Linked DNA regions of Homo sapiens: region 1 is linked to region 2. The links are contacts of gene promoters, found by promoter capture Hi-C in blood cells and fetal thymus (Javierre and others, 2016). All regions are on one chromosome and are shown on one strand. Each heading gives the region's core, a stretch centred on a gene start or on the middle of the fragment in contact. The rest is flanking DNA. Distances are from core to core; before and after follow the strand shown.

Region 1 (6,826 bases), core at 1,991-4,490, 250 kb before region 2:
AATAATTGCAAGCTGAATGGAGTGTTGAGAGAGATTTCCCATCACACCTAATAAATACACAGGACATTAATTTTCTAGAAATGCTCTGTAGATAGCCATTTCAGCTGTAATAAGAAATTATACCATTTATAAAAATAAAATAAGATATTGGTTTATTTTTAAGCTTTTGATCTCAGAATGTCTGTACAAACTTTGGTGCAGCTTTTCCCTGGGAATTAATGACTAGAGAGGGTTAATGGGCTAAAACTCTGTTGGGTCATCAACTTTTCCAGCTAGTCATTAATTCTCAAATGCCCTAAGCCTCAATCTTTATCACTTAATTAAATTCAATAATTTATTTAATTTATACATGTATATCTCAAAGCAATTATACATAATTATTTTTACTCGGATCAAATGTTTCACTCTATTGAGTGATTTGACAGTTTAACTTTGGGCCTTAAATAATTTCTTTAGTTTCTGTGGGTGCAAAACTTTAATTTAAATACGGTGTTCATGTTAACTGTCTTTGGAATACTAGCCTTTATAACTTCCATGGTCTGTTTGTCAAAGTGGGGTAAGTATTGATTATATGGCATAATCAGAAAAGAAAACCAGACATGAGCAGGTGCAGCCATGTTGCCGCCTTGAGGGACACCATGTTTAGCATAAAGCTGGCATTGTGGAACACAGAGTGGGGAACCAGAAAGTAAGTGGGTCCATGATGACACAAACTAATCCTGAATGCTGTTTTCCTCTGAAACCCCAGTTGTATAGACGGCACATCCCCTTTACTAGTTAAGCCGGTGTGAGTTGTATTTTCGCTTACAGTTGAGACATGGTATATATGCCTTGCCATATATTTATCATGCTCACTATTTTGTAGTTTTATGTAGTTCAAGATAGCTGATTCCTGTATAAAGGTATTAAAATGTCTAGTAAAGAAACTATGTTCTCACAGGGCAGTGATGGTTTTGTGACATATTGTTTAAGGTAGTTTGTTTAATCAAGTATTTATTTAGAAAGTGCTTAATAAGTTATGTGGTTTCAGGAAAGTGTGGAGAGTGATGATAAAGAATAAAGCTTAGCATTATGGTAGTAAATGTCACCAAACGTATTGTCTCCAGCTTTCATGAGATCATGTGTATCTTTCTTTGTAACTATGAATAACTGTGAACCAGTCTTCTGGGTTTTGGGGGTGAGTCAGTTCTGATTTACCTTAGGCAGGACAACTTGTTACTGATTCCAAAATACCCGTTCCCACCATTAGATGGTGCACACACTGTACTTACACAAGTCTGCCTTCAAGTTTTAATTTCTGTTCCTTTCTGAACCAGGGGTGGCAGAATACAATCATTTTGAACCCACTTGATTCTAAGTAATTAGCTTGTACCAATTACTTGTACCATAGCAGGAGAAATGATTGTATTGACATATAATTTTTAAAAATGTGTTCAAAACAGAGTATTCACATGGTTTTTAAAAAAAGTGCACATTTTGTTTTATTAAAATCATAGCAAAAAGGTTACAAGAAATAAATATGAACTTATTTTTGGATACAGGGTGGTTGGGTATTACTACAAAATTGCCACCTTGGCCTGGAATTCATGGAAGAATTACTAGAGACGCTAATTACCACTGAAGCCAGTGATGATTCTTTCCGAGTATGGATAACTACGGAGCCCCATGATCGATTTCCAATTACATTGCTTCAGGTTTGTTACTAAACGTCTTTTCATCGAGAGTCATAGTAATAAAGATGACATCATTGACATTGTTGAAAGATGGGAACACAACAGGGCTTTTTGGTCCTGTAGGGTCTGGACTGCAAGATCTTATACTATAATACTATAATCATCAAAATCTTGACATCAAGGTTAGACTGTAGTAAATATTTCCATAGAAGAGCTCTAAGACTTAGTACTAATTTATTGAGTTTCAGCTCTGATCAATGTACTTAGTTTATACAATGCTGAACTTTGCCCCCACTTTATGTACCATAAGCATATTGTTTTCTGATATACAGGTTGAGCATCCTAAATCTGAAAATCGAAACCCGAAATGCTCCAAAATCTGAAACATTCTCAATGCCAATAGAATGCTCAAAGGCAATGCTCATATAACAATTTAATGCTAATATTCCAAAATCTGAAATTCAAAACACTTCCAGTCCCAAGCATTTCAGATAAAGGATATTCAGCCTAATATTGTAATTTCTATTTTATTCTTTATAGTAATTTATAGAAACAAAAGCACTGTTTTCTTTTCATGACAGACCTCTCTCAAATTCACTAATGAGCCACCCCAAGGTGTACGCGCAGGTTTGAAAAGAACATTTGCTGGAATTAATCAAGACCTTCTGGACATCAGTAATTTACCCATGTGGAAGCCGATGCTTTACACAGTAGCATTTTTACACTCCACTGTGCAGGTAACTGCAGAAAGCAGTTTTCACATTTAGGAGATGGCCAGTGGTGTGCTGAGGCCCCATTGGAGAGGCTTCCAGGAGGGTGCTATCCGTTGCCGCTCTGTCTCCTTACTCTCTTTTCCTTCATAGCACTTTCCCCACCTGGTATAGTGTATATTTGTTTATGTATTTTGTGTGTGCCCCCTGCCCCAACCCCCAACCCTGACTATTGGAATGTAAGATTCTCCAGGGTGAAGACTGTCTTTTCGTAACTGCTGACTCTCCTACTGTCACAACAGCACGCAGGGGATTGTCAGAGCTCAATAAATATTTGTAGAATGAGCTAATGGATTATAAAGATAGGAGCTTGGTTTTGAAAGTGCCTGTGCTGGCCAAGAATTTTATGTGCACCATCTCCTGTAATACTAACAACCACATTTCAAGATAGGATTATCACCATCCCAAAGATGTTAAGTACTCTTCAAATGTGGTTGCTAGGATTGGCTGAACTAGGATTGGCTGGCTCTGATTTATGTATTGTTTTGACTCTATTTATTACCTGATAGTAAAAGTGGTGGTGATGTTGGAGGAGGAGGAGGAACAGCAGCTCCCTGTCTTTCTCAAGTCATTTGCTGTTTGCTTTTACAGTCTTAGTACTGACGCAGTAATTTAATAATTTTATGATTACCAAGCAACTTGTCTGTTACGATTTTTTAAATTATTGTTAGTGTTTTGTTCTGCATCTGAATTTTATATTTTGTTCTGTAATTCAAAAGCTATACATTTTCAATGCACTGGATCCATTCCTTGATTTCACAGAGAATTGAAGAGATTCCTTTAAGCCCTACCTGGAGTTCTTTCTTTCCTGGGGTTGGGGTGAAGGACAAAATAAATCAGTTGGTCTATCCCAGGAGTCAGGCTTTTAGCTGTGTACAGTGATGGGCAGAACTTCACATTACCTCTCCCTGCCCTGTCCAAAGATGGAGGGGAACTTAATGCTCATCCCAGAAAATACTGTGTGTATTTACCCCTAATTCATTATCCCTACCACTTTACTAGGTTCCTGGCTGCCCAGGAGAGGGATGTGGTGTTTGTCTGCCTCCCAACACTGAGAAAGTTAAAATCAGATTAAATGCTTTGCTGGTGGTTATCTTTACTAAGTTCCATTGTGGCCTTTGGATTGTCAATTACAGCTTTCAAGTCACAGAAGCCTATTTCATACATTCTTATCTGGGAATTGTTCGCTTTGCTAGACCTTATCACATCCTAATACAAATATTGCTTTAACTCTGCTATTTCATTCCCAATTCACAAATAATATTTTATGATTGTGTTCCCAGTAGTGATGATTCAACTCTTCCACTGTGCTTATCATGGAGAGCTGGTTGGGGGTATTTGCCATATGGTTAATGTGGCAACCTGTGTTTTTAGTGGCCATTATCCAAGTGCTAAAGGGAAGAAGAGCAACAGGACCATGGTCCAGCCATGGGGCTAAAGTGCCCTTGCACTTAACACCACATGTGTTTGGGTTAAAACGGAGGAAAAATATTTTCACTGCTAGGGCGGTGAAGTTACCAGTGGAGTGTCCAGGAATAAAAGGCTGAATATCTCTTAAAATCAAATAATAGAGGGCTAGAAATAACACTTCACTAAGAGTCAGGAGGCCTGGACTTTCGTGCTTGCTGTGAAATCAGTTAGCTGAAAGCAGTTAGTTGATCAAGTTATGTCTCTCTCAGGGCTTCTGTTTCCCCATCTGTGCAGTTAGAGGCAGAAGTAGGTGATCTTTCAAGGTTTTTTTCAATTTCTAAAATTCCATCGCCCAATTCTGTGACAATACAGTGAGTGTAGGTAATTCTTTTTCATCAATTTCAGAAGTGTTTACTGTGATATTTCCAAAATCTCCTGGGAATTTTAGACATATGTTTCAGAAATATCACAGAAGTGTTTGCTGTGATTTTGTGTAAATATTTTTTTTACTTGGTTAGGATAGGGACAGCTTGATAGAAAAATCCAAAATTCTTCAGAGACTTGTTGTCTTGGGCCAGAAGCATCAACATCACTTGGGAGCTTGTTGGAGGTGCATGTCAGATCTCGCCTCAGACTCTCCTAAATCAGTCTGCATTGTACCAAGATACCTACATGATTTGTATGCACCTGAATGTCTGAGACTCAACTGCTATAGGAAGGAATGTTGTGGATTAGATTGTTTGTGACTTACGTTTCTTTTCTCTCTCTAGTGTTGAGTATAAGAGCCAAACATCTGATTTGTTAATTGATTAATTGAGTCCTCCAAATTAAAACAGGTATCCGTTGCTTTAAACAAACATGTTATATGTACTTTTGTTCTTGCAGAGACAGACTGAAAAAAGAATTAGGCACAGGATCTGAAGCTCCAGAGGGGTTCATGCTGGAGTTCATCCCACATTACAATGCAGAACCCAGGAGTAAAATAGCCAACTCCCTGCCTGCTCTCCAGTAAAAAATGTAAATTCTCCCTTGGAATCCTGGTTTGGGTGGCATTATGCCATCAGCTTACCCCAGTTCATAGGCATGATATGTGGATTCTACTTCAGTTGCAGGGAACAAAATGAGCACCTCTCCTTTTCTGGGAGAAGGGGAAGTAAATTTGGCTGGTCAAGGATAACTTGGGCAGAAGAGTGGTGGAGGGCGTGGTTTGCTTTATTCTTGAGGTGGGAGCAGGCTTTCCCAGGAGGAGGGTGCCCTGGGTGCTGCCATGGGAACATGCATAGATGCACGAGGCAACGCCGCACTAAGCTCTGCTCCCTGCCACTCCCCTTCTCCTCCAGCAACTTACTATCCACACAGAGCAGTAGCAGCTACCCTGAGAGGGGAAGTTACTGCTGAAGCCCCCACCCCTGCTGCAGTCCAGTGATGTCTCTGCTTTTGCCAGTGGCCCTTCTGCCTTCCTTATGGGAGCCTTTTATTCCCAGGACCCTGGTGTGTGCCTGGGCTCGGTTTGGCTGCCACTCCCTGAGAATGTTTCAGCATCCTCTTGAAGATTACTTAGGAGGGAAGCTTCTCTCTGGCCTCGGTATTCTGTCTCTGTGCTTTCCTGGGTGGTGTAGCATCCAGTGTAGCATCGTTCTGGGCTTGAGAGCAAGCCCACATTCACCCTTTGGGATTTTAATTTTAAGCACATTTTCCTCCAAAGTCTTAGTCTTTTGAAACTCAATCATTACATTTTTAGCCACTTCCTAACACCTCCTGCAGAAGATCAGAATAATGTTCTATGGGTTATTTTTTTCCTATTGATTGTCAATGTGCCACTCTTTGAGGTGTGTATTGGACCGAGTAAATGTCTTAAGTGGTCTTCTCAGCCAATTATCTACAATTGTCTTCTCAGCCAATGCCTGGGCCCCAGAACAGGACACTTAAGTCAAAATCCCCAGGAGGCCAAAAGGAAGGAGCTCAGTCTTTTTAAAAACTTCCAAGTGATCCTGATATGTGGCAAGAATTGAAAATAATGGCCAAATGGCCACAACCCTTAAGGGAAGAGTCTTGAACCACTTTTACATCCATTTCATAGTCTGGAGTTTTTCTCCCCATCACCTTGGTTTGTCCACATTGAACTGCGTATTTCTTTATGACTTTTCAAACAGCTTATATATAACTCTGTGAGGTGAGGTGCTCTTTTCTTTTTCATTTTTCTTTTTTAGCTAAAGTTATTGATTAGGATCTCTAAGGGCCTATAGTGGCAGTTGCAAACTTGGAAATTCTATCGTGGCCCTTAAAAATTACTTAGATAGTAAATAAAAGGGGCCCTATCAATAGGGCCCAGGGAATCTCACTATTAACAGTTCTTCATTCGGAAAAGTGTTTGCTTCCCCTACATTTCGTTTTCTTTCTCAAGTTTGAGCCTTGATAAACATTCCTTTCAAATTTAATAGTGCATATAAAGTTCTTGCTTTGGGGAGAGATGGTTATAAAATTCCTCATTTAAATGTCTTTGAATGATTATGGTAATATGATACTGGTTTATCTTTTACACTCTGCCCCATAGTGTTTCCCAGAGGTTCTGGCTGCTTCTGTCAACTATTTTTACCTAGTAAAGTTTCCCTTACATTGTCTAGTGTGGCTTGTATTTTTCTTTGTATATTAGCTCCAGTTATTGGAGTTAGACAGTTAACTCCAGTTGTCTGGTTTTGAAGCTGTGAAATGATTCTGCAGCTCTGTGGGAACTGCTGAGGTAGAACCTAACGTAAAATTGGAAATGGCTCTGACATCATTAAAATGATTGAACAACTTTTCATCAGTGTTCTAAGGAGTTTTTCATGATTCCACATTTTCCATATTTCTCTAGTAGTTCAGAGTTTTGTATATTCTGTGAAATGAAAAGAAGAAACTGTATTAATCAAATTAAGTAGGGAGTGGACTGGTTTTCCTAAAATCATCAGTCACCATCTTAATGATGGACAGTCC
Region 2 (6,782 bases), core at 1,435-3,934:
TTGGGGTTTTTCCTATGACGGGAAGGGACTCGCCCAGTTGGGGTTGGTTTGGGAGTTTCTTTGGCCGGGGATGAGGACAGGGCTGTCCTTGTTCAAGAACTTATCTATAATAGCCTCCAAAGCAGACTGGCTTGATGCCCAAGTCCTTTTTCTAAAAATTACCTGCCCATTACTTTTTTTTGGTAGGGGGGTAAATGTTGACAGATTTAACAGGACTGCTAAATAAGAGGCATTTTGTTTGTTCAAATACCTTAAGAAGCCGTCTAGCCTCCAAAGCTATGACCACCAGCTGCACCCGGCTGCCTAACCCCTGGACCCCGCCCCCCCCGCCGTATGCCCCGCCAGCCTTTCCCTTTGCCTTGTGTTTTGAAGTTTATTTTCCCACATTTAGCCTTGAATTCTTTCCTTCCTTCCCCTGCAGTGTTGGAGCAACAGCTTAGAGGGAAACACTTCGAGGGCAGCTCAAGGCTTTATCATCCTTGCCTGCCCTCTTCCCCCTCTAAACAAAGCCCTGGAACAAACTAAACAAAAACTTGTTCTCTAGAGGAATTGTTTCCTCAAGGGAAATCATAAAGCAACCCCCTCCCCACAACACACCCCCCAGGGTAGACGCCCATCAGAAGGAAGCCATGTAGACTCTTCATGCCAGGACTCTTGCTGTTAGGAGGTAAACCAACCAACCATCTACTGAAGCTTATCCTCCCCACCATCACCTCCCATCTGCCTCTACCCGGGAAACTGCTACAGGGCAAGAGACTCTCCACTAAAATCCAACACTAAGCCTGCTAGACTAAACCTCCCCTTCTACAGGACCCCTTGGAGGACAAGTCTCCCCACACACGGCTGCCAGCAAATACGTATATGCTTATCTGTGTGATGTCCATCAATCTGGGGACAAGATTTTGATGTTTTCCAAATGCTTCCAACCTAACAGTCCGTGGCAGAAATAAGGAATGAGGATGGGCTCATTCCCGTTTCTCACATGGGGAAACGGAGGCTGGAAAATGAGCGACGACTAGATAGGCATAAAGTATTGAGGTGCTGCTGTAGACTAAACGTTGCTTCTCATCAGACCTCCTTTCTGGCATCTTTCACCCTGAGAGCAAGGTAACACCCTGGACAATCTACCCCTACTCCCTACCTGCTGCAATCTAGAACTTTCACCCAGGTCCTGGTCATTCCACTGGGGGAGCAGGCCAAGAAGAGTTGATGGTTGAAGCTGAGCCCTCGAGAAACTGGGGTAGAGGGCCTCGGTCCCCAAATGGGCCCCAAGGTCTCAGCCAGGATAGGCAGCCCGTTTATCCAAAGTGAGGTCAATGCCACCCATCGGGCTGTGCACCAGAAAATAAGCGGTTCCCAATGTCAGCACGGAGGGAAGTCCCCCACCCACCCCAATTCCGCACACACTCTCCTCCCCCATCATAAAGGGACTACGCGGGTATTATTCGTTTGTGCAACCTGCTACTTTCACAAAGTTTTACTCCAAGCCCTTGAAGGATGTCTCCGCGAGATAAGCCTTCCCGGAAGCCTGAGCGCGTCCCCAGCATTCCAGGCACCAGCCCTCATCCCGTGGGTTCGGGCCCCACAGAGCCTCCAGCTCCTCTCCGGAACTCTGCTGGGGGCGGAAGATTTTGCCCAGGCTCGGGCTGAGGGACCCTCCCGCCACTCTGCCGGGTTCACGTTCCTTAAGAAAAGCCTGGCAGGCGTGGCACTGGCCCTGGAGCGGGGAGGTGGAGACACGAGGGGATGGCACCAGGCTTGGCTCCCAGACTCCGGGAGCGTCTCCAGGGAAAGATAAACGCCTTTATCCGTCCCACAGCCTCTTCCCAAGGAGGGAGGTACCGTCACACCCACACTGAAACACCGTGGAGCCTAGTTCACCCGGGAATCAACTCCAATTTGTCTCCGGCCAAACTAAGTTCCAAAGAGTCTCCGCGCCTGGGGGACCCCTGTGTCCCTCGGGTGAGCGACAGATCCTCGAAGCCTGACCCATGATGAGACACGCTCTCTCATCACCCCCTGGACCTTCCACAGGGACTGAGGGTCACCCAAAGCTGTGAAGGGGTCTTCCTTTCAGCGCCCCCTAAAGCTCAAGCCAGCTTCAGATGTATATGGGGGTACAGGCGGCGACTGACCTCTAGGATCTTGTCCAGGCCCTCCTGACCCAGGCACGGGAACTCCTTGAGCAGATGCAGCTTCTGTGTGTAGTAGTTTTTCTTGGCCTCCTTCCAGTGTGGCTCCTCCAGCACTTCGAAGATCGCCGCCCCGATGGCCAGGTAGAAGATGATGGCCGAGGTGAGCAGAGGGCCCCGGTCCACCATGGCTCCCGAGCGGCCGCCTCCTAGAGAAAGCCTCTCCTAGCCCCAGCTGCTACCAGTCCGCCCGCCCTCCAGCCTCTGAAAACAGCTGTTTGAATTTGGAGCTCCGCATGCGCAGTGCCCGGTACTCACCCCCCGCAAGCACCGCTCCCCGGACAGAGTTGCTTGGCCAAGTTGGCCCACGGAGTGCGGGGAGCTGCGTGGGGCCCCACTCACGCGGCCCGGGGTGGGCGAACACCAGCGGGGCTGAAAGGGCGCCCTGGACCGCGGATGCGTAAGGAGCGGGAAGAACACAGGACTTGACTCTGGGCAGACACGTGGGCCGCTTCTCCACGCGTCGCTCCTCCGCGCGCCACTAGCAGTATGCGCCGCGCCCGCCTCCGCACGCCTCTTTAACCAGCGCCCGGCGCGCTCTGCCCCCTTGCTCCGGGCTCCGACCGGGGAGGAGCCCAGGCGGGCCCCGCCCCTTCCCCGCACAAGCAGCCCGGCGAGCGCAGGAGTGAGCGCGAGGTGAGCGCTAGAAGAGGCTTGGCGCTCCCCGCGCTCCCAGGGTCAGCCGCCAGGGGAGGCTGCGCCGCCCGCCCAGACCTGCACGCCCTGCGGTGCCCGAGGGGTTGCGGTCTCAGGGACTCGTGTTTGTTATTAGGACTGGCGTGTTAACTAAAATGATTGTGACTGAGGTCAGGAGTTTATTGCTTTTGTTATTTTTATTGTAATTCCATTTTCATTTACTGATGTTTCTTCCAAAAAAGTCTAATGCTCAGTCTCTCCGTGTCTCTCTTCCACACACTTTCTTGTAAGCCTGAGGAAGGGGGTTAGAACGGGGCTGAAGAAGCTGTAGGGAATCAGAGGACATCAGGAACTAATCCAGCCACCCACGCGTGATTCCTCCCCCTCACCCCGTTCTCACCTACCCGGGTGAGAACCCTGCATCTGGAAGGAGTGGGCAGCTCAATTCGTGGCACCCCTGTGCGCCCCCCCAATACACAGTATCTCTACGGGAAACACTTGGCCTCTTTTCTTTTTTTCTTTTCTCTTTTCTTTTCTCTTCTCCTTTCCTCTCCTTTCCTCTTTTCTTTCAGACGGAGTCTCACTCTGTCGCCAGGCTGGAGTGCAGTGGCACTATCTCGGCTCACTGCAACCCCCGCCTCCCGAGTTCAAGCAGTTCTTCTGCCTCAGCCTCTCAAGAAGCTGGGACTACAGGCGCACGCCATCACGCCCAGCTAATTTTTGTATTTTTAGTAGAGACGGGGTTTCACCGTGTTGGCCAGGCTGGTCTCAATTCCTGACCTCAGGTGATCCGCCCGCCTCAGCCTCCCAAAGTGCTGGGATTACAGGCGTGAGCCACCGCGCCCGGCCCACTTTCATACATATGCTCCAGCTGATTTAAAATTCCACCCCCGCCACCTTATCTCCCTCGTTGGCTTTATGTCCTTCCTAGTACTAAATTCCCTCTGCTATATTATATAACTTTATTTATTGTTTACTCTGTATTGTGCCCTCTCCCCGCCACACACACACAGACACACACACACACACACACACACACACACACACACGGAAATGTCTGCTGGGGAGATGGAGAATCTGTCTTGTGTAATGATGTATCCACAGTGCTTGTTACATACATAGCAGACACTCAATAACCATGTGTGCAATGAAGGAGTGAATGAATTTGTTAAAAACAGGTGCCCAGGATGTTTCTAACTCGCCTTGCTGCCATTCTCTGAGCTCTTGTAAACCCCAGGAAGTACTGAATCCCTTCCATGCATCATAAGCAGGCCCTGTCATTCGACCCACTTTGCAGTGAGGAAAAAAGCTCAGTGGGTTAGTTTGTTCAGTCTTTCAACCAGCACCAGTCAGAAGTTGGAGGGGGAACCTCCTTTCAGTGCTCTGTACCAGGGGCTGGCCCTGCCCTTCTCTGGCCTCTGTAGGGGCAGGTACTGGAGTGGCCAGAGTCCCTGAGCACTGTCCCCTGGCCAAGGCCTTTTCTTTCCATCGAGAAGAAGGGGAGTCATTTCTCACCTCCTACCCACCCTGTACCCAGGCTGTGGCCTGAACCCCAAGGTGTCAAGAGACACTTTACTTGGGGAGGGGGGTATCTGTACTATCTCCAAATCTGGCTGGAATGGAGGGGTTAGGGATACAGTTGGAAGCATTGATCTGATTTTGCTGATGTTTCTGTCTCTCCTTATGGCAACATGAGCGTGTCCAGAGAAGAAGACCAGAGCAGGAAGCTGGGGAGCCCCAGATTTCCTGATACTGCATCCCTGAGGTGTGCAGTGCCAGTCCCCTCAGGACCCCCCTGGCCAAGGATCATCCTGGACAAGGCCCTGGGGGTGCTTCTCTGTAGACAACCCACTCCCAGCACCAGGCCTCTCACCCAACCCAACATATCCATCTTCTCTAAGCCTTGCTGACCTCCTGCCTACCCTGTCCCCCAGGCTGTGGCCTGAACCCTAGCTCTGCAGTCTCATTCTCCAGCCCTCCAGCTGGGATGGAAACCAAGCATGGGTTCCGGATCCCCCCTCTCTGGATGGAGTTCACCCTGTTTGTGAAGAGTTCAGGGCTGCAGTGTGAACGCTTCAGTGAGCATGGGGTGGGGGCAGTTTGAGAGGCCACAGGCCCTCTCTTTGTTTGGAAAATTCCCTACCATTCCTCTCCCACCTCCGGTCTGTGTTCTCTTCCTAAGAAAATAAAGGGCCTCTTCCTATTTCGGTCTCACAGCCTCATGAAAATGCTGAACACTTTGAGATGAATTGATTTTTATTCGAGGCCTCTGTATGTTGTAGTTTCTTTGTCCTTCCACTCTGTTTCTGCATTTCCTGTCCCCTTCTTCCTTCTTGCTCTCCATGTGGTGCTGACTGACTCCTCATCCTCTCCTTCTGTCGCCGCATCCTTTGCTTTCCTGTATTTTTCCAAAGCTCCTTCCCCAGCTCTTCATTCTCCCTCCTCCTGCCTCTCTCCTTTGTCTCCATCCCAGTTGAATGTGCTTCCCCTCCCCCAACTTCCCCTCCCCTCCCCATCTCCCCACTCCCCTCTCCAACTCCCCTGCCCCAGCCAGATAGTTGGATCAACTTGACCTTCTGTAGATCAGGGGCACACACCTGCTCTCTGCACAGCAGCCAGTGGGGGCTTTTATAAAATGTAAACTGTGCTGAAACTATCGAATATTTAGACAACACGAGCCTTAAGATTGGAAAAGGGAAAAGTGGGTAAATGGGAATGAGGTGATGTGAGATATATATTTTCCTACAGGGCTGATAAATAAATCCATTCCAATAGCATACGTGTAGTTCTTAGTATTATGATTATTGATCAGGGTTGATAATAATTTCAGAGTGCAACCTTTTGGAAGGCAATCAGCTCTGAGGAATGTAAACCAACAATAAAATTCTAGGCCCCTCCCAAGCAAGCAAATGGACCCTTCCTCTTGACCAAGGGCATTCTCAAGTAAACACAAAACACTAGTTCAGGCCATGATGGAATGGGTGGTTGGACATGGCTCCTTTTTTTTTTTTTGAGAGGGCGTCGCACTCTGTCACCCAGGCTGGAGTGCAGTGGCACAATCTCAACCCACTGCAACCTCTGCCTCCTGGGTTCAAGCAATTCTCATGTCTCGGCCTCCCAAGTAGCTGGGACTACAGGCATGAGCCACCACGCCCGGCTAATTTTTTGTATATTTAATAGAGATGGGGTTTCACCATGCTGGCCAGGCTGGCCTCAAACTCCTGACATCAACTGATCTGCCCACCTTGGCCTCCCATAGCACTGGGATTACAGGTGTGATCCAAAGCGCCCAGCCGACATGCCTCCTTATAACTTCCTCCCTTTGGAATTCAGGCACAGCTGACCAGCATTAATATTAAAACAGAGACCTTAAGGCACAACCTGGCCAACATGGTGAAACCCTGTCTCTACTAAAACTACAAAAATTAGCTGGGCGTAGTGGCTTATGTCTGTAATCGCAGCTACTCAGCAGGCTGAGGCATTAGAATTGCTTGAACCCGGGAGGCAGAGGTTGCAGTGAGCCGAGATGGCACCATTGCACTCCAGCCTGGATGATAGAGACTCCATCTCAATAAAAAAAAAAAACAAAAACCCAAAAAACAGAGACCTTAAGACTGACAGTACAGACTCTTTGTAGCAATAAGAATCATGACAGCAGGCCCTGAGAGAAATCGAAGTATTTTACCCCAAAATATATTCATTTGGCCTATTTTGAAATGCTCCTGCAGGAGCGCTCCCTGCGCTCCCGGGGTCGTCTGGCACCTTTGTAAGTTGGATAACGAACATTTATAATCTATTCTCTCTGAAGCCTGCTACCTGAAGGCTTCACCTGCATAATAAGAACCTTGTCTTTACAACCCCTTATCTTAACCCAGACATTTCCTCCTACGGATTTCAGGTCTTTAGATAAACTCAACCAGCTACCAATCAGAAAATCTTCGAATTCACCTATAA

What was found. Contacts are between HindIII fragments. The CHiCAGO score rates a contact against its expected background, and 5 or more counts as called.
Region 1: a contact is called between a fragment that was not itself captured here and the fragment with the promoter of KCNK5 in region 2, in 1 of 17 cell types (activated CD4 T cells). The highest score is 5.1, in activated CD4 T cells.

What each region holds. Positions count from the first base shown.
Region 1 is chr6:38,972,120-38,978,945 of GRCh38, forward strand. DNAH8 (dynein axonemal heavy chain 8) reads left to right here. Exons shown (of 93, transcript NM_001206927.2): 84 at 1,542-1,694; 85 at 2,255-2,410. Among named protein-coding and RNA genes, the nearest start is that of DNAH8-AS1, 22 kb to the left of the region's middle. The HindIII fragment of the contact is 4,360 bases long and covers 1,061-5,420 here.
Region 2 is chr6:39,226,791-39,233,572 of GRCh38, forward strand. It overlaps KCNK5 (potassium two pore domain channel subfamily K member 5), which reads right to left and starts at 2,685. Exons shown (of 5, transcript NM_003740.4): 1 at 2,136-2,685. The coding sequence starts at 2,321. RefSeq lists silencers at 1,363-1,432, 2,446-2,525, 2,626-2,975 and an enhancer at 3,263-3,990. The HindIII fragment of the contact is 7,595 bases long and covers 692-6,782 here.